Regions from separate parts of the Homo sapiens genome. Here region 2 is linked to region 1. Evidence: promoter capture Hi-C in human tissues and cell types (Jung and others, 2019). All regions are on one chromosome and are shown on one strand. Each heading gives the region's core, a stretch centred on a gene start or on the middle of the fragment in contact. The rest is flanking DNA. Distances are from core to core; before and after follow the strand shown. Region 1 holds the start of BRD7 (bromodomain containing 7). Region 2 overlaps LOC105371259 (a long non-coding RNA gene).

Region 1 (6,957 bases), core at 3,141-5,640:
AATACAATGGGACTAATGATCTTTAGAGCCACAGTCAAGAAAGGATAGAGTGGCTGGAACACAGGGGGGAGAACACTTCTAAGAACCCATCCTGAAGATATTCTTACACAAGTGTACAAAGATGTGTGTACAATGAGGCTCACTGCAGTATTACATGTAAGATTTAAAAGTAATAATCATAAGTATGGTATATCCATATAACTAAATACTATGTAATCGATATAAAGATAACGAATAAAACAAGAAACGAAGAATATTAATGTATCAATGGGATTATGGTGGTAACTGCCAGAACAAAAACCAGAGTGGTTCAAAGTGGTTACCTCAACTTTTGTTAAACAAGACGATGGCCGGAACAAAGAGCACGTAAGAGACAAAGGTTGATAAGCCACGTCAACACACTTGGGAGACGGAAGGCAAATGGGGTGATTTGCAGAACAGAGAAAGCAAGATACTCCCGTATGCAGAGAGGTGGACACCTTTGAAAAAAGCCTAAATTCCAGAACCCTGGAAAAGCTCAGAACTGGAGGAGGCAGGGAACCTGAGAGTCTCCAAATCTCGAGACGAGCCAAAATAAGGAGAAATGCCAGACTCAGAAAACTGGGTGGTAAGACCTTCAGCCCCTGCCCCATAGTTGGCTCCAGAAACACGGATAAAACTGGCAAAATCCATCTCCTAGGAGAGGAGGATTTTTCTCTGGAGAAACTAAAAATCCCAGAGAAAACATCTGTAAGGTACAGACATTGGGGCATTCTTCACCAAAATGACTGAGTCCCTGTTAGTCACTCTACAATAAAGTCCATCAACTGACAAACTCTGTCTAGGTACAAAGCATTTACTCAGCTTTGTACAAACTGCAAAAGCTCAACAGACAACTAAAGGATGCTTTCAACAGAAAACAGAGACAGACAAATAAATGGAAGAATTTGGGAGAGAGAGACAGGGCAGGGAGCAAAAGAAAACTTAGGAGAAAAAAACAGGAAAAAACTTCGATTAATATCCTCAGAGAAAGAAAAGAATATACTGCATCTAAAACCAAGAACAGGGTGCTAATTCAAAAAGGACAGTTAGAGAACAAGAAAAAATTCTTGGAAATTCAAGGTATAAGATCTGAAATAAATCTGGAAAAGTCAGAAATTTTAGGGATGTTCCCTGAAGGAAGAACCCTCCCCCACCCCACACACACCCAGAAAAAATATGAGAAAAACATAAGAAAATTAGAGGATCAGTTCAGGAGTCTAATATCTAAAGGGCAGGAGTTCCAGAAACCAAGAAAAGAAAAAATGGAGGGAAAGAAATGAACACAGGAATACTTCAAGCACACAGCTCTGAACTGAAGGCACAAGTATTCATTGTGAAATGTCAGAACACTGAAGATAAGGGGGGAAGATCCTAAAAATTTCAAGTTAGCAAATACTGGTCATATGCAAAGGACTAAGAATCAGAATGGCAACAGACTTCTCAACAGCAAATTTAGAAGCCAGAAAACAACAAAGCAATGCCTTCAAAAGTCTGAAAGAAAATAATTTTCAATCTAAACAAGTCAAACCATCAACCTGTATGAGGGCAGAATACAGATTTTCAAACATGTTAGAACTTATAAAATCTACCCCGTGTATGCTTTCTTAGGACGTTCCTAGAGTTAAGAGTCCACCAGAACAAGGGAATGAATCAAGAAAGAGGAAGGCATGAGATCCAGGAAGCAGGTGAAGGAGAGTCCCAGGAGGCCTTGACAGCAACTAATTCAGCCTCCAGGAGACAGAAAGCTGTAAGATAAATGTCTCCAGAGGAAAATAAAAAAGGAAGTAAAGAACTCAAATGAGTTTCATAAATCTTAGAGTTTGGGAAGAATTATTAAGCAATAACCAAACAAATGAAAGCAATGATCTAACTAGTTAAGATCAGATCTATATTTGCATACTATACTTGTCTACAATCACTTTAATATTGATTTAACCAATAATTGTGATGTACCTATACCTTGAGCAAGGGAAACTGAATTCTCATCTTCCATAACATGATGTCAGTAGAAGATATAAACTGCTAAATCAGTAAATAGCAATATAAACCTTTATTTTGAAATAGAAATAAGTAGGCAAGGAAAAATACCTAAAAAGTGTCCAGAGTGGAGCAGCAGCCTGCTTTGTGTCAAAAAGCTGTGTAGTACTCTTGACTTTTAAAAATCATCTTCACGAATTACTTTACTACTATTAATTAAAAAAAACAACTGGTTACCTCTGAAGAGGGAGTCTATGTGAAGGATTGGGGTGAGGAAAACTTTTTCCATTTTGTGTACTTTTGCACCACATGAACTACTTTTAAAAAATCAAATGCATATATGGGTTTTATAATTTAAGGAAGAAAACAAAACATTACTCCTACCTAGCCAAAGGTAATAAAAACTGGGACAAAAGGGAAGGAATAGACTTAAGAAATCCCCAAAATAAGATCTCTAAGACTTGGTGACTTAGCAATGTGTTCAATCACATGGAAGAGAAAGCTCCTCTTGTATATATAAACATAAGAAAAATTACATAACTAACCTATGAAAATTTACCTTCACAATAATTGATGTAATAAGTCGTTCAGTGGCAGGTTAAATTTGGAAAGTTAATAACAGTAATAACAATGTTATTATTATTAGAGACAGAGTCTCGTATTATTGCCCAGGCTGGAGTGCAGTGGTATGATCATACCTCACTGTACCTCAAACTCCTGGGCTCAAGGGATCCTCCCACCTCAGCCTCCTGAATAGCTGGGACACAGGTGCACACCACCAGGCTCTGGAAATTTTTGTAGTTTATTTTGCAGAGGCAGGGCCTTGCTATGTTGCCCAGGCTGGTCTCGAACTTCCAGCCTCAAGCAATCCTCCCACCTCGGCATTCCAAAGTGTTGGGATTACAAGTGTGGGCTACTGGGCCCAGCCATTAATTATTATTTTGCCCAGCTTTCAAACCAAGATGGTAGCTACTCATTCTTTTCTGTTAAATGCAAATGGTTAAGAATATCAATCTCCATTACAGGTTTCTGACCAAATTTTCTCAACACACTACAACACTGTTTTAAAAGATTTAAAGTTGCTCATTACAGATTTGGCATTATAATATTTATTTCAGAACAAACTTTAAACCCCAGTAGATCCCACTCGCTTCTGAAATGACTATTTTTGACAATCCTTGAACACTGAGGCTTTCTTGAGCATGACTTTTTACCCTGCCTAGATGGAAAAACCATTCTTTGAAGCAGCTCCTCAAAATTTGGACTTAGCTGCTTCCTCACCTGATGTGCGAGTACAATTGCCTAAGAGTATAATCCAAAAACGACTTGCTGAAACTCATAGATGATTCATGTCTCTATTCTGTCCTGCTCCTCCTCAAACGAGCCAGATCTTAGAGGCGTTTGTTTTCCCCAGATACAAAGAAAATAAAATGAGGTTGGCACCTGGAAGAGGCAGTGCCGTCCGCAAAGCCAAAGCAATGTAACCACTTGTACCTTAACTCTTCTCCGTTTTCTCCCCTTTTCTTCCCCTGGAATCTGCTTCTCTCCTTTCTTTCTCTTTTTCCGCTTTCTGTCCTTGTGTTTGTCATGATCGTTTTTGTCTTCGAAGAGGCTGGAGTCGTGCCCCGAGCTGCCCGTGGAGAGTTCGGTGACTTCGTTCCCTCCTACTTTGAGGACCAGCTTCAAGGGCTTCTCTACATACTCTTAAAAAAAGAAAAGAAAAGAAAGGAAAGCGCGTCGATTAAAATCGGGGCTCTCCAGGGAGTGCTAAGGATGCAGAGCGCCAAGGCGCAGCAAGCCCGAGGCGGCTTTGGGCGCTCCGCGAAGCACCTGTTGAATGACGGACCCCGGCCCGGGGGTGCGGCGGCGCCGCCCGCCCCGAACGCTCCCAGGCCTCCCGGGCCCGCCTCACGTCTCCCCACCAGAGACCCACCGGACCAGGGGGACCCGGGTTCGAATGCCGCGGCCGCACGGGGGGCAGCGCGGCCTCCGGCAGGACGCGCCCCCTTCGCCGGCCTGGGCCTGCCGTGGGAAGGAAGGGCCCCGGGCCGCCCCGGAGCCACTGGGAAAGAGCGGAAGCCCGGCAGAGCCGCCGAGGGCCCGCCGCCCGCACCCCGGCCCCCTCCTCACCCTCGTAGAGGTGTTTGTCCGACTTGTGCTTCTTGTGCTTCTTGCCCATGTCCGACCGGGCCCCGGTGCCCGCCCCCCGCGCCAGGCCCAGGCCGTGCGGCGCCGCTTCCGGTCCGGGCCAGGCGAGCGGAGGGCGGGAGCGGGGCCCGCGAGACCCCGCGCCGCGAGGCAGGGGGGCGGCGCGCGCCGGGCGGCGCGATGCCCCTCTCGAGAAGACGGCGCGCGAGACCCGGCCGGAGCCCGAGAGCGGCGGCGGGGGGGGCGCGCGGCCGGCGCAGAGGCGGGAAAGAAGGCCCGCCGCGCGCACAGGGTGCCGGCGGCTGCGGGTGGCGGCCCCTGGCGACCGGAGGTGGTGCTGCAGCTCGCGGGCCGGGGGCGGGGCCGAGGGCGGGGCCGGGGCGGGATCCACCGCTCAGACTCTCGTCTTTCTTCCTTCCTCCCTTTCCCCTCAATTTGTCTGTCTTGTCTCTGTCTCTGTGTGTCTCTCCCTCCGTCTCCACTTCCCTCCCTTCTTTTTACTCCCTCCCTCTCTTTCTTTCTCTTTCCCTTCTTCCCTTCCTTCCTCCTTCCTTCCTTTCTTTCTTCCCTCCTTACTGCCTCCCTTCAAGCCTTCCTTCTCTCTTTTCTTCCTCCCTCATCACCCTTCCTTCTCCTCTTCCCGTCTCCTTCCCTCTTTTTTTCTTTTCTTTTTTTCCCCTTCCTCCTTCCCCCACTCTTCCTTTCTTTCCACTTTCCCTTGCTTCTGTTTCTTCCCTTTTACGATATTGACTGAACCCCATACTGGGTGCCAGACCCAGCAAACTCAGCACATTGGTGACTGAAGATTCTAATCTTAAAAAAAACTTATGTGCTGATAGGTGAAGGTTACCAGACGTTTTGACTGTCTTTACTTCTAGCTGTATGGTGCTTTGTCTGTTTTCAGATAAGCTCGTAATTATAGTCTCCTCTTAAGAAAGGATCTGTTATCAGTCATTTATACTTTAGTAACAATTTAGACCCATGAATCACCTCTCCCAGGAAGATTTGTAGCTTTACCTTGAACTTCAGTGGTGAAATTATAGGCTTATATTTTAGGACCCTATTGTTGGCAACTAATAGAAACCAATTTGAATTATTTCAAGTAAATAAAAAGGGATTTATTGGTTTACATGTCTAGAAAGGGCAAGAATAAAGCTTGCCAGAGGGAAGACAGGAACCAAGGATGTAATGCTGTTGACTGGCATGCCAGCTCGCTCTCTCTCTTGTCTCTCTGTATATCGGTCTCCATCTCCCCCCTTCTTTCCTATATGGCTGGAAACATGGCCACCATCTGCTTCTGAGGCCTCTTCTTTATAGTGTCCTGACCAACTGGGAAAAAGATCTCTTCCTGTCAGCTTCACCTGGAAAACAGTCCCAGGGAAGGACTCTGATTGGCTTGGCTTGTGTCACATGTTTTATGGGACAGGGGATGGGAGATTGATTCGGCCTGGATGCCAAATCTACCCCCTCACCCCCTTGGCCAAGAGAAGTGGAGTCTGTGATTGGCAGCTCCTGCCAGACTTCTATGGTTAGCCAGGGAAGATGAGGTTCTTCTAATGAAGAGAGTTGCTTTTTCATGAAAGCTAAAAGTGTGTGTCTATTATTTCCCTGTAACAAGCCTCTCTGGTGTCCGTGAGGCAGAGATCAGGGTGTGGGAAGAGGGGTTGTGTTGGGGAAGAGACCTTCTGCTGCTCTGAAATCAAGCCAGCTAGGCCCCCTAGGCCCCCTAAGCATAGGGCAAAGCTTGGTTTCAGCTTTTCATCCACTGTCTGTAACTTATTTTGCTTTAAGAACCACTATGCCAACTCCCACTGTGGGTCTGGCCTCTATTGTGGCATTGCCTTGCTCCAGGCTCAACCTGTGGGTTTACCTGTCTGCTCCTCATTACCCTGGGTACCTCCTTGGTACTTACAGTGCCTAGCACAGTGACTACTACTGTCCAAATGCCCCTCAGAGGAAAAAGGTCTGGTGAACTCATCCATACTATCAAGTTAGTAATTTCCCTACCCTCTCAAGAGTGATTCTACATAGGTCACAAAGTGGTCACATCAATGGAAAGTGAATAAGAGTACGTAGCAGAAAACACCTCCCAGAAAAATGTTCCTGGAAGTGGAAGCCCAAATTCATCTAGTTTTAAATTCTCAGCACTAATACCATGCCTGGCACATAGAAGGCACCAGAAAATGCTAGTTGAGCTGCACGGTCCTGGTTCGGGCAGACTCCCCTGAGAGATTTCTGCCTGCTGCCATTCATGACCTCCCAGTGAGTGTAGAATGGCCTGGAGACTGGCTTCAGAGCAATAGAATATGGCAAAGATGATGGACGTCACTCCTGTGTTGAGGATACATAAGACTTCAGTCTTACTTGCTGACCGTCTCTCTTGCCTTCTTGGCTTGCATGTTTTGATGAAGTAAGCTGCCATGCTGGAGAAGCCCATGTGACAAAGACCTGAGGCTGGGCCCCAGTTGACATCCGGCTACAACTGAGGCTATCAGTCCAACAGCCTTGAAGGATTGAATCCTGCCAGCAACTGTGTGAGCTTCAAAGTGGATCCTTCCTCAGTGGAACATTCAGATGAGACCTCAGCCCTGGCTGACATCCTGATCACAGCCCTGTGAGAGTCCCAGAAGCAGAGGCCCCAGTTAAGCTGTGCCCAGACTTCTCCCCCAACAGCCCAACAGCTCTTGAGTGAGTGAGACAGAGCTGACTTGAGTCCTGGGGTCACAGATGCTTACAGGGTCTGTGACTTTGGCATGTCCTGAGAGGGCTGCCTACCTCTGAACCTTGGAACCAGGGTGAGGTCATTGGGTG
Region 2 (6,957 bases), core at 2,246-4,745, 1.6 Mb after region 1:
ATCCATGAAAGTGGAGTTCTTAGCAGATAGAGTACACAGGGTCTCACAGAAAGTACAGAGAAAAATACCAGCTCATATTTCAAAATATTATTTCAGGACACATCCACTCTGGGCAGGCTTTGGGAGGGACATCCCTCGTGACAAATTATCTGCCATGTGTGATGAGGAGGCGAAAATAAGGCTGATAAATTGTGTAAAACAGCGTGGAGTTTCCTCAAAAAACTAAAAAGAGAACTGCCCTATAGTCCAGCCATCCCACTTCTGGGTTTAGATCCAAAAGAACTGAAATCAGTGTATCAAAGAGATATCTACACTTTCATGTTTATTGCAGAACTATTCACGATAGCCAAGATATGGAATCAACTTAAGTGCCCATCAACAGATGAATGAATGAAGAAAATGTGGCATATGCACTGTTGAATGTTATGCAGCCATAAAAAGAATGAAATCCTGTCATTCTCAGCAATATGGATGAGGCTGGAGGGCATTATGGTAAGTAAAATAAACCAGGCACAGAAAGACAAACACTGCCTGTTCTCACCCATATGTGGGAGCTAAAAAAGTTGATCTCATAGAAGCAGAGAGTAGAATAGTGGTCACAGGAGCATGGGGAAAGGAGGCGGGGAGACAGTAGATGTTGGTTAACTGATAAAAAATGACAGCAAGGCAGGAGGAATAAGTTATAATGTTCTATAGCATTGTAGGATGACTATAGTTAACAATTTACTTTATGTTTTCCAGTAGCCAGAAGGAAGGATTTTGAAGGTACTGAACAGAAAAAAATAATAAATGTTTCAGGTGAGAAATACACTAATTACCCTGATTTGAATACTACACATTGTTTACATGTGTTGAAATACTATTCTGTATCCCATAAATATGTACAATTACTACATGTCAACTAAAAATTAAAAAAATAAGGCTGATAGGATCACTATTTAGTCAGACCCCTGGTGGCTCAAGCCTTCCTTGAGGTTTATTTTTTGCCTCTGGAGAGTAGAGACCTCAGTCACTGTTGCACCCTCATGCCCATGCCCACCCAGTCCTCTGGCATGGTGGCATGGCCACAGTAGGCACCCATCCGAGAGGCCAACCTGAAGGAATGGATCATACCACACTCACGCAAGCAAGAGTCTGAGTAAGGCACCTCTAACTCAGGATAGAACTCCTGACTCCAATCAGGAATAGCCTCCAGAAAAGAAAAGTGCTTTTATGGGGACCTCCGCCCATTTGTTAGTCATTTATCCACATGAATCCTTAGGCCAGGAGTCCAAAATGCACATACTTTTGGAGGCTTAGACAGGTGACATAAATAAGAGAAGTGGGATGGCTGAGGGATGATTCTTCACTTTCCCAAAGAAATATCTTCTTTGCCATTTTCTTTGACTTGTTCTTCGCTCTTGTTGGTTCATTATTCTGTATGTTATAGGGACAAGGGAAAAAGAAAAATTTATATTCCTCTTTACTATTGGGCCATGAAAGAATTACAAATGACAACTAATTCTATGCCTCGATGGCAGAAAACCACCAGGGTGAAGAGAAGACCCTGGTGAACTGAACAGCATAGGTCTCATCTAAATAAGGAGGAGCTAGAGCTAATCATCCCCTCATGGGAATATGGACTCAGTGTTGCCTGCTGTTTTTTTCAAAAGAAGCTGGAACCTAACTATTCTTGTGAAATAGCCTAATATATTTACATGCACAATTCATACATACTCTTTTAAAACCCTGTGCAGGAAACAGGGGATACATTTTTGGTCCAGATTCAGGGTATGAATCAGCAATTTAGATCCTGAATTTTCATCATATTGTTCAGCTCTTGGGGTATCAACCAGATGTAGTAGCAGAAGTCTTGGCCTGTGAATCCAGAGGCTGGGGTGGGCATTCTCCTCTGTAAAAATGTGGACAACTTGTACTCCTCCCTGATCATCTCCTTAACTTCTCCAAACAAGGAGAGATTAGATGACCAAATTTATTTTTATATGCACATCTAGAGTGTAAACAGCTATCATAAATAGACTTTAAAATGCATGTGGCTTAAAAAATAAACAAATGAACAGAAGTTTCACTCTCCGTCACAGAACAGTCCAGGGTGTGACAGCTGGAGCTTTCCTCCACCCTGTGATTCCAAGATCTACTCTCCTGTGATTATGTTGGCTCCCATGGCCTTGCCATCGTCTACCTCTTGCTGCTCTCACAGAAGAGGTATGGTAGAGGAAATGAACACCTGCTTCTTGAAAATCATGGCCCAAGATCTATACAAATCATTTTTACTTACATTCAGTTGGTGAGAACTGGACACACAGCCACACCCAGGTGCAGGGTGTGACATGACTACACTGTGGAAGGGAAGAACAGATTTTAGTGGATGTCTAGCATTCTTTGCCACCTATCCTTCCAGAAAACGTTGCACATGAATCCAATATATAAAACGGTTCATCATGTAGCTGTACAAGATGAAGACAGAATAAGGAATTCCTAAACTCCATAATGAAAGTTGCATCACTGCTCAAAATATTTTTTGGTCATGGAGAAAGAAGATGTCTCTTTGTTGCACTGACATCAGGCTTGGCCATGTGACTCACTCTTGCCCAGTGAATGTAGCTAGAAGTGATGGGTGCTATTGTTAAACAGAAGCTTTGAAAGCCATGGTCCACCACTCTTCTATTTTCCTTCTGAAGGGGGACCAGTATGTCACAGAAAAGAGCTTCTTTTTCAGTAGAATTAGAATGAAGAAGATAGGAAACAAAATCAGAGCTGCTTTATGATAGTCATGTCATATGAATGAAAAATGCATCTTTAATTTTGCAGGTCATTAAGATTTGGTGCCATTTGTTACTGCAGTATAACTTGGCTTAAGCTGACTGATACACTCTCATGTCCGGTGTCCTCTTGTCTCATTAGGGGCCTGGGAAGCATCTCCTTATAACTTCTAGGACTTGGCAAAGTATTGGACCCAATCATTGCTGAGATCTCTCAAAGTCCCAGCATTCCTTGATTCTGTCTTCATGTGGTAGGGTCTCTATATTCCTAGAGGCTTTGAAGGACCTTTGTATTCCTAGAGCCTAACACTATGCAAGGTATAAAGTAGGTGCTCAGTAAGATTGCTGAACATGCAACATATTGTTTTGGCAATCTCCTGCAGCATGAAATTTTCTAATCAATGTCCCTCCCCACAGGCCATTCCTAGAGCGCCCTTCTCTCCCTCCCTCCACATGGTAGACTTCATATTTCAAGCCAAACTCAGGTGTTCTCTTCCCTATGACAGCCTCAGACCAGAGTCCGAAGAAGTGTGTCCCATCTCTGGATTCCAATAACTCTGAAATTTCTCTAGGCTCTTCCATGCTATATTCTTTTGGAAGCAATGCTTGGTTTAGTGATTTTTCATTCTCTCAGTTTCTAGGATATTGTCTGATTCAATAATAAGTCTCAAAATGTGCTTATTAAATAAATGAATCAATATAGTATTTCCAAATTTGTCATGATATAAAAACTTGAAAGAATTTGCTGTCAAATATGTATATTAAAATATAACCTTTATGTGATTTGAAGACTTTAATATGGGAAAAGTAATACCTTTTGTGTGAGATAAATTGTCCTTCTCAAGAACCTGCCACTGTATTATATTGTAAGGTACGTGTTATATATAAATTATAGCATTTGCCATGCATCTCCTCAGGCTAAATACTGCCCTTCCAGTCATATTTAAACAAATGTTTTTAAAGAAACTTTTCTCTGGGAGCAAAAGTACACCAAATCATTTACACTCTAGTATAAATTAGTTAATCAGTTCACAAGTTTTCTTCTCTCTCTCTCTGTCTCTCTCTCTATATATATACACACACACATATGTGTTTGCTATCATTTTAAATCTATTTGAATCTTTAGTTCTTAAAATTTCTGCCTTTTTACAAACGATGCATTCCTGAGAATGTCTTCCCAAGATTGTGCTTAAGTTTGGACTTTGGAAGCCATGTGGATTGCTGTGCTGTGGGGTTTGAATCTGTCTCCACCATCTACTGGTTGGTAAAGCTGGCCAAGACAGTCAAATTTCCTAGCTCTCATTTTCTCAAAATGAGATAATTGGTGGCTAATAAATGGTACATCAATCCACATGTATTAATCACTATGAAGGAAGAAAATGCATTTAGAATTTAGATTGATATAAATCATGGCATAAAATACAAGTTTTGGAGGCTTCTCCTTATATTGAACCCACCTGGATGAACTAAACAAAGACACCCTTACTCAAGAGGCTGAGGAATAAGGATCACTAAAGTCCAGGAGTTTTATACCAGCCTGGACAACATGGCAAAATCTCATCTCTACAACAACAACAACAACAACAACAACAACAACAATAATAATAATAAACAGGCATTGTGGTGTACTTGTGATCCCAGCTACTTGGGAAACTGAAGCAGGAGGATCTCTTGAGCTCAGGAGCTCAAGGTTGCAGTGACTTATGATGGTGCTAGTTCACTCCAGCCTGGGCAACAGAGCAAGACTTCCTCCCCACCTACCCCCAGAAGAAAAGGAAAAGAAGATGTTCTGAATGAGAGAGGAAGGTCTGAAACAAAGGTAATGAAAGCCTCTAGAACTTTCATTTACAAATCCAAGCCACCTTTTCTTCTGTAACTAAAACAACAGAAATATTTTCTTCTTTTTATTCAACTCCACCATCTTTAAATTGGAGACTCAATGAAACTGAAACTCCTGCCCTTCCAGAACTTAACCTGTTAAATGACTGTGCTTTCTTGCTACAACAAAAAACAATGTGGTACAAAGAAAACCAACCCTGGTTGGAGCACATATTTTTTTCTAAGGAGATTGATGAATTGCTTCACTGCATCCAGCAGAAACTGGAAATGATAACTCTTTCCCCCAGTCATAATGACTAACTGTTAAACTTGAAAGGATAAAACAAAGGAAGAATCTTGTTGCCTCCCCTAAGTTACAAGCACTACAAGTGGGACTGACACCTTTCATCTTCTCACTCACAACAGCTGGCTTCTGAGGAATAGCCTCCGGGGATGACAGGGTGGCTGGGGTGTGCTGGGGGTATCGTGCGGAGAAACAGCTGTTTCTCAGATTTGCTAGAAGGAAATTTTAATCAGGGTCAGGCTGAAATTGGTTTGTGCAGACTTGGGCCTAGTCATTCCTTTATGGGAGGCAAATGGCAAGGTGCTTTCTGGGTTACAAAAACTCCAAACTCCAAAGTCATGCTGGGACCTGCTTCATTCCTCCCCTAAGGCATCCGTGGACTGGCTTAGGTCCTTCTGCTAACTTAGGTTACCTGGCAGCTTTATCGTGTATATAGCAAAAGAACCTCTAGGCACACATGTTTTGCTGGCCCTTCTATTGAAAGGTGATGCTACTAGCCTCGAACAAAGAGATAGGCAGTGAGCACAGTTTAGACTCTGAATCTCCCAGTTCCCAAATGCGACGGTTAGTTTTATGTGCCAACGTAGCTAGGCTATAGGACCTAAGTATTTAACCAAACAATAATCTGGGTGTTCCCGTGAAGGTGTTGTGTAGATGTGGTTAACATCTCCAACTAGCTGACTCTAAATAATGGAGATGACCTTCCATAATGTGGGTCAGCATCACCCAATCGGTTGGTGGCCTAAAGAGCAAAAACTGAGGTTTTCCAAAAACGAAGTTGTGCCTCAAGACTCTGGCTTTAATTCTTGCTTGAGTTTCCAGCCTGCCAGCTCGCTCAGTAGATTTCTTTTTTATAATAGCTTTTAGGGTACAAGTGGTTTTATGTAACGTGGATAAATTATATACTGGTGAATTCTGAGATTTGAGTGCAACTATCACCTGAGTAGTGCACATTGCACCCAATGTGTAGTTTAGTGTCCCTAGTCTCCCTCCTACCCTCCATCTCCTGAGTTTCTAAAGTCCATTTATGACTCTGTATGCCTTTGCATACTCATAGTAATAGCTTAGCTCCCACTTATAATTGAGAACATTCAGTTTTTGGTTTTCCACTCCTGTGTTACTTCACTTAGAATAATGGCCTCTGGCTTCATCCAAGTTGCTGCAAAAGACATTATTTCATTCCTTTTGATGGCTGAGTAGTATTCCATGGTGTATATGTGCCACATTTTCTTTATCCACCCTTTAGTTGATGGGCACATAGGTTAGTTCCACATCTTTGCAATTATGTATTGTGCTCAGCACATTTTGGAATTGCCAGACCCCCAGAATCACAAGAGCCAATTTGTTAAAATAATTCTTTTAACATTGACATATATACATAAAACAAACATAGAGTTCTGCAAAACTAAAACATTCTAAGATGATAGTATACTATTTCTAGAACATTGCAAGTTTTTGCCTGATCCTGAGGTCATGAGGAATGGCTAAAGTCAGAGTGGTTAAAGAATTCCTTGATTTTTTTGCATAATTTTAGGGTCTTTTCCTGACTCCTTTTCTGAAAAACACAGAGAAGCCAAGATGGTCTGCCATTTATTGCTCCAAGGAAGAGAATGCATGACAGAGATAAAAACCTGAATCAATACTTAGCTTTTAAGTTTCAAAAGTCCTACCCTATGTGATCAGAGTGGGTTTGTGCATGGAATGGAAAGATTTTAGACTACAAATGGGGAAGAATTAAACACCTCTTTCTGTTAGCCATGCCTGCAGATTAGCTAATGATGCTTTGGCCCGAGTGGGGAGTTGGAGATGAAGAAAGTTTTGAGAAGGCAATATGGACTCTGACGAAGATCAGCCCTGTGCTCTAAACTCATCCCCTCCCACCCCTTCTCAGATCCTTTCTAGCTGTAGGGAATTCAAGGACAGAAGGCACAAGAGCCTAGCTTCCAGGTTAGAAGCAGGAAGGCAGTCAACCTTAGAATGAATAGCCATTCATTCATTCATTCATTCATTCAACAAATGTCTACTGAGTCTCTGCTGTGTGCCAACTATTGTCCTAGGTGCTGGAGTAGACAA

The links. Contacts are between HindIII fragments. The study calls those that stand out against the background at their distance.
Region 2: a fragment that was not itself captured here is called in contact with the fragment with the promoter of BRD7 in region 1 in 1 of the 25 tissues and cell types used here (dorsolateral prefrontal cortex).

Annotation. Positions count from the first base shown.
Region 1 is chr16:50,364,598-50,371,554 of GRCh38, forward strand. It overlaps BRD7 (bromodomain containing 7), which reads right to left and starts at 4,391. Exons shown (of 17, transcript NM_013263.5): 1 at 4,129-4,391; 2 at 3,493-3,701. The coding sequence starts at 4,177. RefSeq lists silencers at 3,780-4,289, 4,320-4,569. The HindIII fragment of the contact is 10,865 bases long and covers 1-5,595 here.
Region 2 is chr16:51,984,836-51,991,792 of GRCh38, forward strand. LOC105371259 (a long non-coding RNA gene) reads right to left here. Exons shown (of 3, transcript XR_933563.3): 2 at 2,279-2,339; 3 at 564-1,416. Among named protein-coding and RNA genes, the nearest start is that of LINC02911, 89 kb to the right of the region's middle. The HindIII fragment of the contact is 5,234 bases long and covers 879-6,112 here.